Regions from separate parts of the Homo sapiens genome. Here region 1 is linked to region 2. The links are contacts of gene promoters, found by promoter capture Hi-C in human tissues and cell types (Jung and others, 2019). All regions are on one chromosome and are shown on one strand. Each heading gives the region's core, a stretch centred on a gene start or on the middle of the fragment in contact. The rest is flanking DNA. Distances are from core to core; before and after follow the strand shown. Region 1 holds the start of ZNF653 (zinc finger protein 653). Region 2 overlaps ZNF625 (zinc finger protein 625).

The links. Contacts are between HindIII fragments. The study calls those that stand out against the background at their distance.
Region 1: a contact is called between the fragment with the promoter of ZNF653 here and a fragment that was not itself captured in region 2, in 1 of the 25 tissues and cell types used here (dorsolateral prefrontal cortex).

The regions. Positions count from the first base shown.
Region 1 is chr19:11,503,923-11,508,905 of GRCh38, reverse strand. It overlaps ZNF653 (zinc finger protein 653), which reads left to right and starts at 3,067. Exons shown (of 9, transcript NM_138783.4): 1 at 3,067-3,418. The coding sequence starts at 3,120. ECSIT (ECSIT signaling integrator) reads left to right here. Exons shown (of 8, transcript NM_016581.5): 5 at 858-915; 6 at 1,056-1,204; 7 at 1,344-1,449; 8 at 2,478-2,977. The coding sequence ends at 2,722. RefSeq lists enhancers at 672-1,449, 3,902-3,971 and silencers at 2,872-2,921, 3,082-3,751. The HindIII fragment of the contact is 10,042 bases long and covers 1-4,983 here.
Region 2 is chr19:12,143,423-12,148,321 of GRCh38, reverse strand. It overlaps ZNF625 (zinc finger protein 625), which reads left to right. Exons shown (of 4, transcript NM_145233.4): 2 at 520-646; 3 at 867-927; 4 at 2,098-3,432. The coding sequence ends at 3,025. ZNF625-ZNF20 (ZNF625-ZNF20 readthrough (NMD candidate)) reads left to right here. Exons shown (of 8, transcript NR_037802.1): 2 at 520-646; 3 at 867-927. Among named protein-coding and RNA genes, the nearest start is that of ZNF20, 5.5 kb to the right of the region's middle. The HindIII fragment of the contact is 6,147 bases long and covers 1-4,899 here.

The DNA of each region.
Region 1 (4,983 bases), core at 1,818-4,317, 640 kb after region 2:
ACAAGCACTGAGCACTTATTATTTGCCAGGGACTGTGCTACATATTTTACAACCACCCAAAGTTAGGTTCATGCCCATAATCCTAGTGCTTTGGGAGGCCAAGGCAGGCGGATCACCTGAGGCCAGGAATTTGAGACCAGCCAGGCCAACATAGCAAAACCCTATCTCTACTAAAAATACAAAAAATTAGCCGGGCATGGTGGCAGGCGCCTGTAGTCCCAGCTACTTGGGAGGCCGACGCAGGAGAATCGCTTGAACCCAGGAGGCGGAGGCTATAGTGAGCCGAGATCATGCCATTGCACTCCAGCCTGGGTAATGAGCAAAACTCCATTTCAAAAATTAAAAAAATAAAATTAGCCAGGCATAGTGGTGTGCACCTGTAGACCCAGCTACTTGGGAGACTGAGGTAGGAAGATCACTTGAGCCCAGGAGTTCAAGGCTACAGTGAGCTATGATCATGCCACCATTCTCCAGCATGGATGACAGAGAGGGAGACCCCCATCCCTAAAAAAAAAAAAAAAATCGGAATTAAGTGCTGTTATCATCCCTATTGTGCATCTGGAGAAACTGAGGCACACAGGTACAGTGACTTGGCCAAGGTCACACAGCTTGTGACAGAGCCAGGATTTTGACAAAGGTGGGCTGGTTCTAGGGTAGTTCCCTCAGGGTGAGCATCCTAAAGATTGGTGGTTATTGCCAAATGGGACAGAGGGAGGAGGGGACAGGTTGGAGGGCCGTGTACCAGATCCAGGAGAGGTGTCCTGAATTCCCTGGTATCCCCCTTTCTGTTTCTCTGTCCCCAGTTCCTCTGTAGGGGATTGGGGGTTACAAGATTATATCCCTACTCTCCCTTGCAGGTTCCTTTGCCCAAAGACTCAACAGGTGCAGCAGATCCCCCCCAGCCCCACATCGTAGGTAAGTCCGAGAGCATGGGGGCAGCCAAGTCTCTAACCTTACCCAGGCCCTGCCAGGTTCTCGCTGGGCCTAGGCTGGGCTCCCTGGGCCTCTGGGCCGAGTCCCTTGCAGGGCACAGGGCATGTATGTCTCCACACCAGGAATCCAGAGTCCCGATCAGCAGGCCGCCCTGGCCCGCCACAATCCAGCCCGGCCTGTCTTTGTTGAGGGCCCCTTCTCCCTGTGGCTCCGCAACAAGTGTGTGTATTACCACATCCTCAGAGCTGACTTGCTGCCCCCGGAGGAGAGGGTGAGGGCTTAAAGCAAAGCATGTGTTGGGGCTGGGGAGTGGGCTGGCACTACCCTGAGGGTGCATGGGAGAGGCTGGAGGAGGGAGACCGAGAGAGCCCTGGCCTCTGACCCCGCCTGCACTCCCCACCTTGGAGTAGGAAGTGGAAGAGACGCCGGAGGAGTGGAACCTCTACTACCCGATGCAGCTGGACCTGGAGTATGTGAGGAGTGGCTGGGACAACTACGAGTTTGACATCAATGAAGGTAAAAACTGGGCCAGGTGCGGTGGCTCACATGTGTGCTCGTAATCCCAGCCCTCCTACAGGCTGAGGTGGGAGGATCACTTGAGCCCAGGAGTTGAGGTTGCAGTGAACTATTATAGAGCCACTGCACTCCAGCCTACATGATAGACCCTGTGTCAAAAAAAAAAAAAAAAAAGGCAAAAACCTGGACAGGCAGGACTTCCAAACATTCCAAACACCACCCAGGATGAGGGGCGGCCTCTGGGGTCAAGGGGTAGGCCCAGGCTGAGACGCAGTCCACTTACACCCTCGTCCTCCGGCCGCACACACTCATTTGCCCCAGGGGCTCCAGACCTGAGGTCACCCAGCCCTGTTGGCCCTTGTTCATTCCCTCCCTCCTACAACTCTGTGCTGGCTACTGGGTGTCACCAGGACAAACCTAGTCCCTCGAGTCAGCAAGGGAACAGGCAAATTACACTTTGGGGAGCTTAGGAGAGGAGCATGCCTTGAGTGGGGGGTCAGGAGGCCTTCCTGGCAGAATACAGAAAAACCAGGAGTCATCGCCCGGGTGAAGTGTGGAGTGGGCAGCCTAGGCAGCGGGGCTAGCTTGTGCAAAGGTTTGGAGGCACAAGAAAGTGGAAGGAAGCCGGGCACAGTGGCTCACGCCTGTAATCCCAGCACTCTGGGAGGCTGAGGCGGGTAGATCATTTGAGGTCAGGAATTCGAGACCAGCCTGGCCAACATGGTGAAACCCCATCTCTACTAAAAATTTAAAAATTAGCCCGGCGTGGTGCTGTGCACCTGTAATCCCAGCTCCTCGGGAGGCCGAGGCAGGAGAATCACTTGAACCTGGGAGGCGGATGTTGCAGTGAGCCGAGATCTCGCCACTGCACTCCAGCCTGGGTGACACAGCGAGACTCCGTCTCAAAAAAAAAAAAAAAAAAAAAAAGGAAGTGGAAGGGAGTGTAAAATACCTCAAAAAGGTGTAGGCATGGGTTAGCCGCTGCAGCCCCCACTGTGCAAACCTTAAGGGTGCATGTCTTCCAACAGTGGAGGAAGGCCCTGTCTTCGCCATGTGCATGGCGGGTGCTCATGACCAGGCGACGATGGCTAAGTGGATCCAGGGCCTGCAGGAGACCAACCCAACCCTGGCCCAGATCCCCGTGGTCTTCCGCCTCGCCGGGTCCACCCGGGAGCTCCAGACATCCTCTGCAGGGCTGGAGGAGCCGCCCCTGCCCGAGGACCACCAGGAAGAAGACGACAACCTGCAGCGACAGCAGCAGGGCCAGAGCTAGTCTGAGCCGGCGCGAGGGCACGGGCTGTGGCCCGAGGAGGCGGTGGACTGAAGGCATGAGATGCCCTTTGAGTGTACAGCAAATCAATGTTTTCCTGCTTGGGGCTCTCTTCCCTCATCTCTAGCAGTATGGCATCCCCTCCCCAGGATCTCGGGCTGCCAGCGATGGGCAGGCGAGACCCCTCCAGAATCTGCAGGCGCCTCTGGTTCTCCGAATTCAAATAAAAAGGGGCGGGAGCGCTGTTGGTTGTGCGCATGCGCAGTTTCCATTCTTGGTCTCCTTTTGGCGCCCTGGGGCAGCGAGAGACCGTGAGAAATTTCTCGGCGGCGCCGAAGATGCGCGCCACTTCCGGTCTGGCTCCTAACAACGGGGGAGGCTGGTAACCAGGGTGGGGGGGATGGCGGAGCGGGCGCTAGAGCCCGAGGCGGAGGCGGAGGCTGAGGCGGGCGCGGGCGGGGAGGCAGCAGCCGAGGAGGGCGCAGCGGGCCGAAAGGCGCGGGGCCGGCCGCGACTCACGGAGTCGGACCGGGCCCGGCGACGGCTCGAGTCCCGGAAGAAGTACGACGTGCGGCGCGTGTACCTGGGCGAGGCGCACGGGCCCTGGGTGGACCTGCGGCGCCGCAGCGGCTGGAGCGACGCCAAGCTCGCCGCCTACCTCATCTCTCTGGAGCGCGGCCAGCGGAGCGGCCGCCACGGGTGAGGGGGCCTGGCCCCGAGGGAGGGAGGGAGGAGACGCCCCCAGACCCCGCCGGGCTTTACCCCGCCCCCTCCGCTTCTAGGGCCAGCCCCCGGCACCTGCGGACCCCGCCCAGGAGCCGGGCCGGCGGCCTGGGTCTCGTACTGCCTGGCCGGGACGCGCCTGGCTCGTGGCCCCGCCTCCCATCGTTCCGACTGCCCAATCCTAGGGTGCACCCAGCCCCTCGACCCGCCTTCTGAGCGCTTGGCCCCGCCCGCTAGAACTCTGGCGGCCCAATCCTGGGACTGGCCCCACCTCCAGGCCTTGTAACTAACCAGGCCCTGGGGGGGCAGCCCCGCCCCCTCACCGGTCTCATCCTCCCCCGCTTAGTTCCCCACCTGGCCTGGGACTCTGGACACCCTGGGGCACTCAGCCCTGCCCTTCTTGAAGTTCTGGTGCCCCATCTGGGACTCCGTATGGCCCCATTCCCACAACCCTAGATCCAACACATCCGGGGGACCCTTCACAACCTGGACTGCACTCCCCTAAACCTATTTCTGTGAAGCAACTCAGCCCAGGGAGACTCGGATGAAGAGGAAACCCCTAGTTAGCTTGGCAGGTGGAGGGCAGAGAGGCCTGTCTTTGTAAATTCTCAGTCTTGAGAAGGAGCAGTGTGGATGGAGTTTTTCCCTTCCTGCCTTATATGTTGATGTGATGATTGAGTTAAAATAGGCAAAGAGCTTAGAAGAGTGCCTGGCAGGTAGTGGGTTCCCTAAGTATTAACTTTTACGAGGATGACGTTTATTCCGTATCACAAGCAGTGCCGCAAGGAAATCCTTGTTCTGCCCTGGTTTTCAGGTACACATGTTCTCATGTTTCTCTGGGGGGAGATTCTGAGAGTCAAGAATCAAACAGATCCTGCTAAGTTATACCCACCCCTTTCCCAGGACAGCAGGCTGGCTTATATGCTCAAGAGCAGGACTGGAAATGCTGGGAGCGCAAAGATACCTGCCTCATGGAGCGGACATTCTGGTGGGCAGAGGGGATGGCTTGTTCAAAGGTCTGGGGGGTTTTTTTGTTCGTTTTTCTTTTCTTTTCTTTTTTTTTGAGACAGAGTCTTGCTCTGTCGCCCAGGCTGGAGTGCAGTGGCACGATCTCCGTTCACTGCAAGCTCCGCCTCCCGGGTTCACGCCATTCTCCTGCCTCAGCCTCCCAAGTAGCTGGGACTGCAGCCGCCCGCCACCACGCCCGGCTAATTTTTTGTATTTTTAGTAGAGACAGGGTTTTACTCTGTTAGCCAGGATGGCCTCGATCTCCTGACCTCGTGATCCACCCGCCTCGGCCTCCCAAAGTGCTGGGATTACAGGCGTGAGCCACCGCGCCCGGCCCTCGTTTTTCTTTTTGAGACAGGGTCTCACTCTCTCGCCCAGAGTGGAATGCAGTGGCATGATCACGGCTTACTGCAGCCTCAACCTCGTGGGTTCAAGTGATCCTCTTACCTCCGCCTCCTGAGTAGTTGGGACCACAGGTGCACGTCACTCCACCTGGCTAATTTTTGTATTTTTTGTAGAGACAGAGGTTTCCC
Region 2 (4,899 bases), core at 1,267-3,766:
TTAGTTAGTTATGACTCTTATCAGTCAGATTGGTAGGGCCTCAGCCAGGCTTGGTGGCTCATGCCTGTAATCCCAGCACTTTGGGAGGCCAAGGCTGGTGGATCACTTGTGGTCAGGAGTTGGAGACCAGTCTGGCCAACATGGTAAAACCCCATCTCTACTAAAAATACAAAAATTAGTTGTGCGTGGTGGCAGGCGCCTATAATCTCAGCTACTTGGGAGGCTGAAGCATGAGAATCATTTGAACCTGGGAGGCGGAGGTTGCAGTGAGCCAAGATCATGCCACTGCACTCCCACTTGGGTGACAGAATGAGATTCTGTCTCAAAAAATAATAATAATTAAAAAAAAAGAATTTCTTTATGGAAGAGTGAGTGTTGACAGAGTAAAAAGTCTGATGACCAGATCATGGAATAAATGTTTGGAGTCCATAGCACCATGGAAACTTTGTAGGAATAGAGTATAGGAACCCAGTGCTGTCAGTCTCACCCATGTTTCTTTACACATGTGGGATGTTTCAGGATTCAGTGGTCTTTGAGGATGTAGATGTGAACTTCACCCAGGAGGAGTGGGCTTTGCTGGATCCTTCCCAGAAGAATCTCTACAGAGATGTGATGCAGGAAACCTTCAGGAACCTGGCTTCTGTAGGTAAGGGTAACAATATTACTTTCCTCAGTGAATTAGAGAACAAGTGTTTCTAGCTTGTCAGTAGTGTTGAGTGATTTGGAGTGTGGACAGGGAATAGTGAGGACAGGGAATAGGAATGTGAATAAATGCTGCAAGGCTGCAGTGTACCATGAACTTAGAATCTAGTACTTTTTTCATAATTTTGCTAATTCAGGACTATTTTTCTGGTTCTGTATTTTAGGAAAAAAATGGAAAGATCAGAAAATTGAAGATGAGTACAAAAATCCCAGGAGAAACCTAAGGTAATTCGCATTCACAAGAGAAAGTGATGTCTCTCTAGACAATCATAGAATGGAAGAAAATGTTAAAAAGAAGCAAACAAGAAATAAGCCAAGTTCCACTGTATTTATTCTTACAAAATTTTCTCTAGGGCCGGCTGTGGTGGCTCACGCCTGTAATCCCAGCACTTTGGGAGGCTGAGGCAGGCGGATCACGAGGTCAGGAGATCGAAACCATCCTGGCTAACATGGTGAAACCCTGTCTCTACTAAAAATCCAAAAAAATTAGCCGGGCGTGATGGCGGGCACCTGTAGTCCCAGCTACTTGGGAGGCTGAGGCAGGAGAATGGCATGAACCCGGGAGGCAGAGATTGCAGTGAGCCGAGATCATGCCACTGCACTCCATCCTGGGCGACTGAGCGAGACTCCGTCTCAAAAAAAAAAAAAATCTCTAAAAACATATATTTAAGTGTGACATAGGCTGAACATCCTGGCTTAAGCCTATAATCCAGCCCTTTGGGAGGTTCAGGTCAGAGATTGCTTGAGCTGAAGAGTTTGAGGCTACACTCGGCCATGATAGCACCATTACACTCTAGCCTGGGTTAAAGGGCAAGACCCTGACTCAGAAGCAATAAAATTGACAAAGACAGTTAGTACTTGTAAAATAGTTTACCTGAAAATAGTGTTGGCCGGGCGCCCAGGTGTATGCCTGTAATCCTAATGCTTTAAGAGGCTGAGGTGGGCAGATTGCTTGAGTCTAGGAGTTTGAGACCAGCCAGGGAAATGTGACAAAACCCCATCTCTAGCAAATATACAAAAATTAGCCAGGCACGATGGTATGCTTGTAGCCTCAGGTAATCAGGAGGCTGAAGTGGCAGGACGGCTTCAGATCGGGAGATGGAGGTTGCAGTGAGCTGAGATCTCACCACCGCACTCCAGCCTGGATGACAGAGTGAGACCCTATCTCAAAAAATGTTTAAAAAGTACTAAGAAGCCCTATATCAATATTATCTTTCTTGATAACAGGTATAGCTGGGCCATCTTGTAGAGCATGTGTGGTCTGTTCATGTTCAGACAGGGCAGAAAGCCTACACATTGCTGTACAGTGTTAGAAATACAAGTGCAATGACTTGTTAATGAATATCAAATCAGTGATAAAGGAACCCATTATGATATACTTCTCATTGTTCACAGAGGTCTTATGGGAGAGAGACTCTTAGAAAGTAAGAAAGATCATCAGCATGGAGAAATTTTGACCCAGGTTCCAGATGACATGCTGAAGAAGAAAACTCCCCGAGTAAAATCATGTGGAGAAGTCAGCGTGGGTCATGCATCCCTTAATAGGCACCACAGAGCTGACACTGGACACAAGCCATATGAGTATCAGGAATATGGACAGAAGCCATATAAATGTACATACTGTAAGAAAGCCTTCAGTGATCTCCCCTACTTTCGAACACATGAATGGGCTCACACTGGGGGGAAACCTTATGATTGTGAGGAATGTGGAAAAAGCTTTATTTCCCGTTCAAGCATTCGAAGACACAGGATAATGCACAGTGGAGATGGACCCTACAAATGTAACTTTTGTGGGAAAGCCTTGATGTGTCTCAGTTTGTATCTTATCCACAAACGAACTCACACTGGAGAGAAACCATATGAATGTAAACAGTGTGGTAAAGCCTTTAGTCATTCTGGTAGCCTTCGAATACATGAAAGAACTCACACTGGAGAGAAGCCTTATGAATGCAGTGAGTGTGGGAAAGCATTCCATAGTTCCACATGCCTCCATGCACATAAAATAACTCACACTGGGGAGAAGCCGTATGAATGTAAACAGTGTGGGAAAGCCTTTGTTTCTTTCAATTCCGTTCGATATCATGAAAGAACTCACACTGGAGAGAAGCCCTATGAATGTAAGCAATGTGGGAAAGCCTTCAGATCTGCCTCGCACCTTCGAACACATGGAAGGACTCACACTGGAGAGAAACCCTATGAATGTAAACAATGTGGTAAAGCCTTTGGATGTGCCTCGAGCGTTAAAATCCATGAAAGGACTCACACTGGAGAAAAACCCTGTAGCTCCAACACTTCGAAAGGCCAAGGCGAGAAGATTGCTTAATTCACATAAGATTCCTAGAAGCCACCGAATCCAATCATGGTAAAAATGTGTTTCCCTCAAATCATGGGAACCATCGCAAAATTATTCTGAAGCTTCTGCAGTCACTGTCATTTGACAGCATTCAGAAATAAATGCCAGTAGCCCAGGAGCAAAAATTTTTGGGAGTAGTTTAGCTGGGGCCTCACTCAGATACCTAGGACACAGAGTTGGAAATAACTCTTAAGAGAGACACACCTCCAGTAAGACCTTAAGACAGTTCTGTCATAAAAAAAATACGAGGTTTGGCCGGGTGCAGTGGCTCATGCCTATAATCCCAGCACTTTGGGAGGCCGAGGCAGGCGGACCACGAGGTCAGTAGTTCGAGACCAGCCTGGTCAATATGGTGAAACCCCATCTCTACTAAAAAATACAAAAATTAGCCAGGTGTGGTGGCGCCTGTAGTCCCAGCTACTCAGGAGGCTGAGGCAGGAGAATTGCTTGAATACAGGAGGTGGAGGTTGCAGTGAGCTAAGATTGCGCCACTGCACTCCAGCCTGGGTGACAGAGTGAGACTCCGTCTCAAAATAATAATAATAATAATAAGGTTAGCCCAGCAAAGTGGCAGGTATATATATACAGGAAGGTCAGAAAAATCTTTTCCCTCCTATTGAAAGCCCAATACCTAAGTGGCAAGCCCTCATTTTAAGAAACTCACTAAAGGGATAACGGAAGTGCCATTGTCAGACTCACTGCCTCAGAAAGCTTTATCAAAACAAAAGGCTAAAGTTCCTATTCAAAAATATCCTATAATAAATGGCTGGCTATCGGGTACACTACGTATTTTATGCCATTCGTTCTCACGAGTTTTCTTTTTTTTTTTTTTTGAGACAGAGTCGGGCTCTGTCTCCCAGGCTGGAGTGCAGTTGCACATTCTCAGCCCACTGCAACCTCTGCCTCCTGGGTTCAAGCGATTCTTCTGCCTCAGTCTCCCGAGTAGCTGGCTTTACAGGCATGAGCCACCATGCCCAGCCTCTAAACTCTTTTTTTTTTTTTTTTTTTTTTTTTTTTTTTTTTTTGAGACAGAGTCTCACTCTGTTGCCCAGGCTGGAGTGTGTTGGTGTGAGCTCGGCTCAGTGCAACTTCCACCTCCTGGCTTCCCGGGTAGCTGGGATTACGGGCACCCACCACCACGCTAGGCTAATTTTTTATATTTTTAGTAGAGACAGGATTTCACCATGTTGGTCAGACTGGTCTTAAACTCCTGACCTCAAGTGACCCACACCAGTGTCTCCCAAAGTGCTGGGATTACAGGTGTGAGCCACTGCACCCGGCCTTCTAATCTTTTTCCAGCCTTCAAATTTTTTTTTTTTTTTTTTTTGATACAGAGTCTTGCTCCAGGTTGGAGTGCAGTGGTGTGCTGTCGGCTCACTGCAGCCTCCAACTCCCAGGTTCAAGCGATTCTCCTTTCTCAGCCTCCTGAGTAGCTGGGACTATAGGCGTGTGCCCCCACACCCAGCTAATTTTTGTATTTTTAGTAGAGACAGGGTTTCACCATGTTGACCAGGCTGGTCTCGAACTTCTGACCTCAGGTGATCCACCTGCCTTGGCCTCCCAAAGTGCTGGGATTACAGGCGTTAGCCACTGCGCCCGGCCATTTTTGTATTTTTAGTAGAGACGGGTTTCTCCATGTTGGCCAAGCTGGTCTTGAACTCCTGACCTCAAGTGACCCACCTGCCTCAGCCTCCCAAAATGCTGGGCTTACAGGTGTGAGCTACTGCGCCAGGCCTAATATCTTTTTTTTTTTTTGAGACAGAGTCTTGTTCTGTGGCCAGGCTGGAGTGCAGTGGTGCAATCTTGGCTCACTGCAACCTCCGCCTCCCAGGTTCAAGAGATTC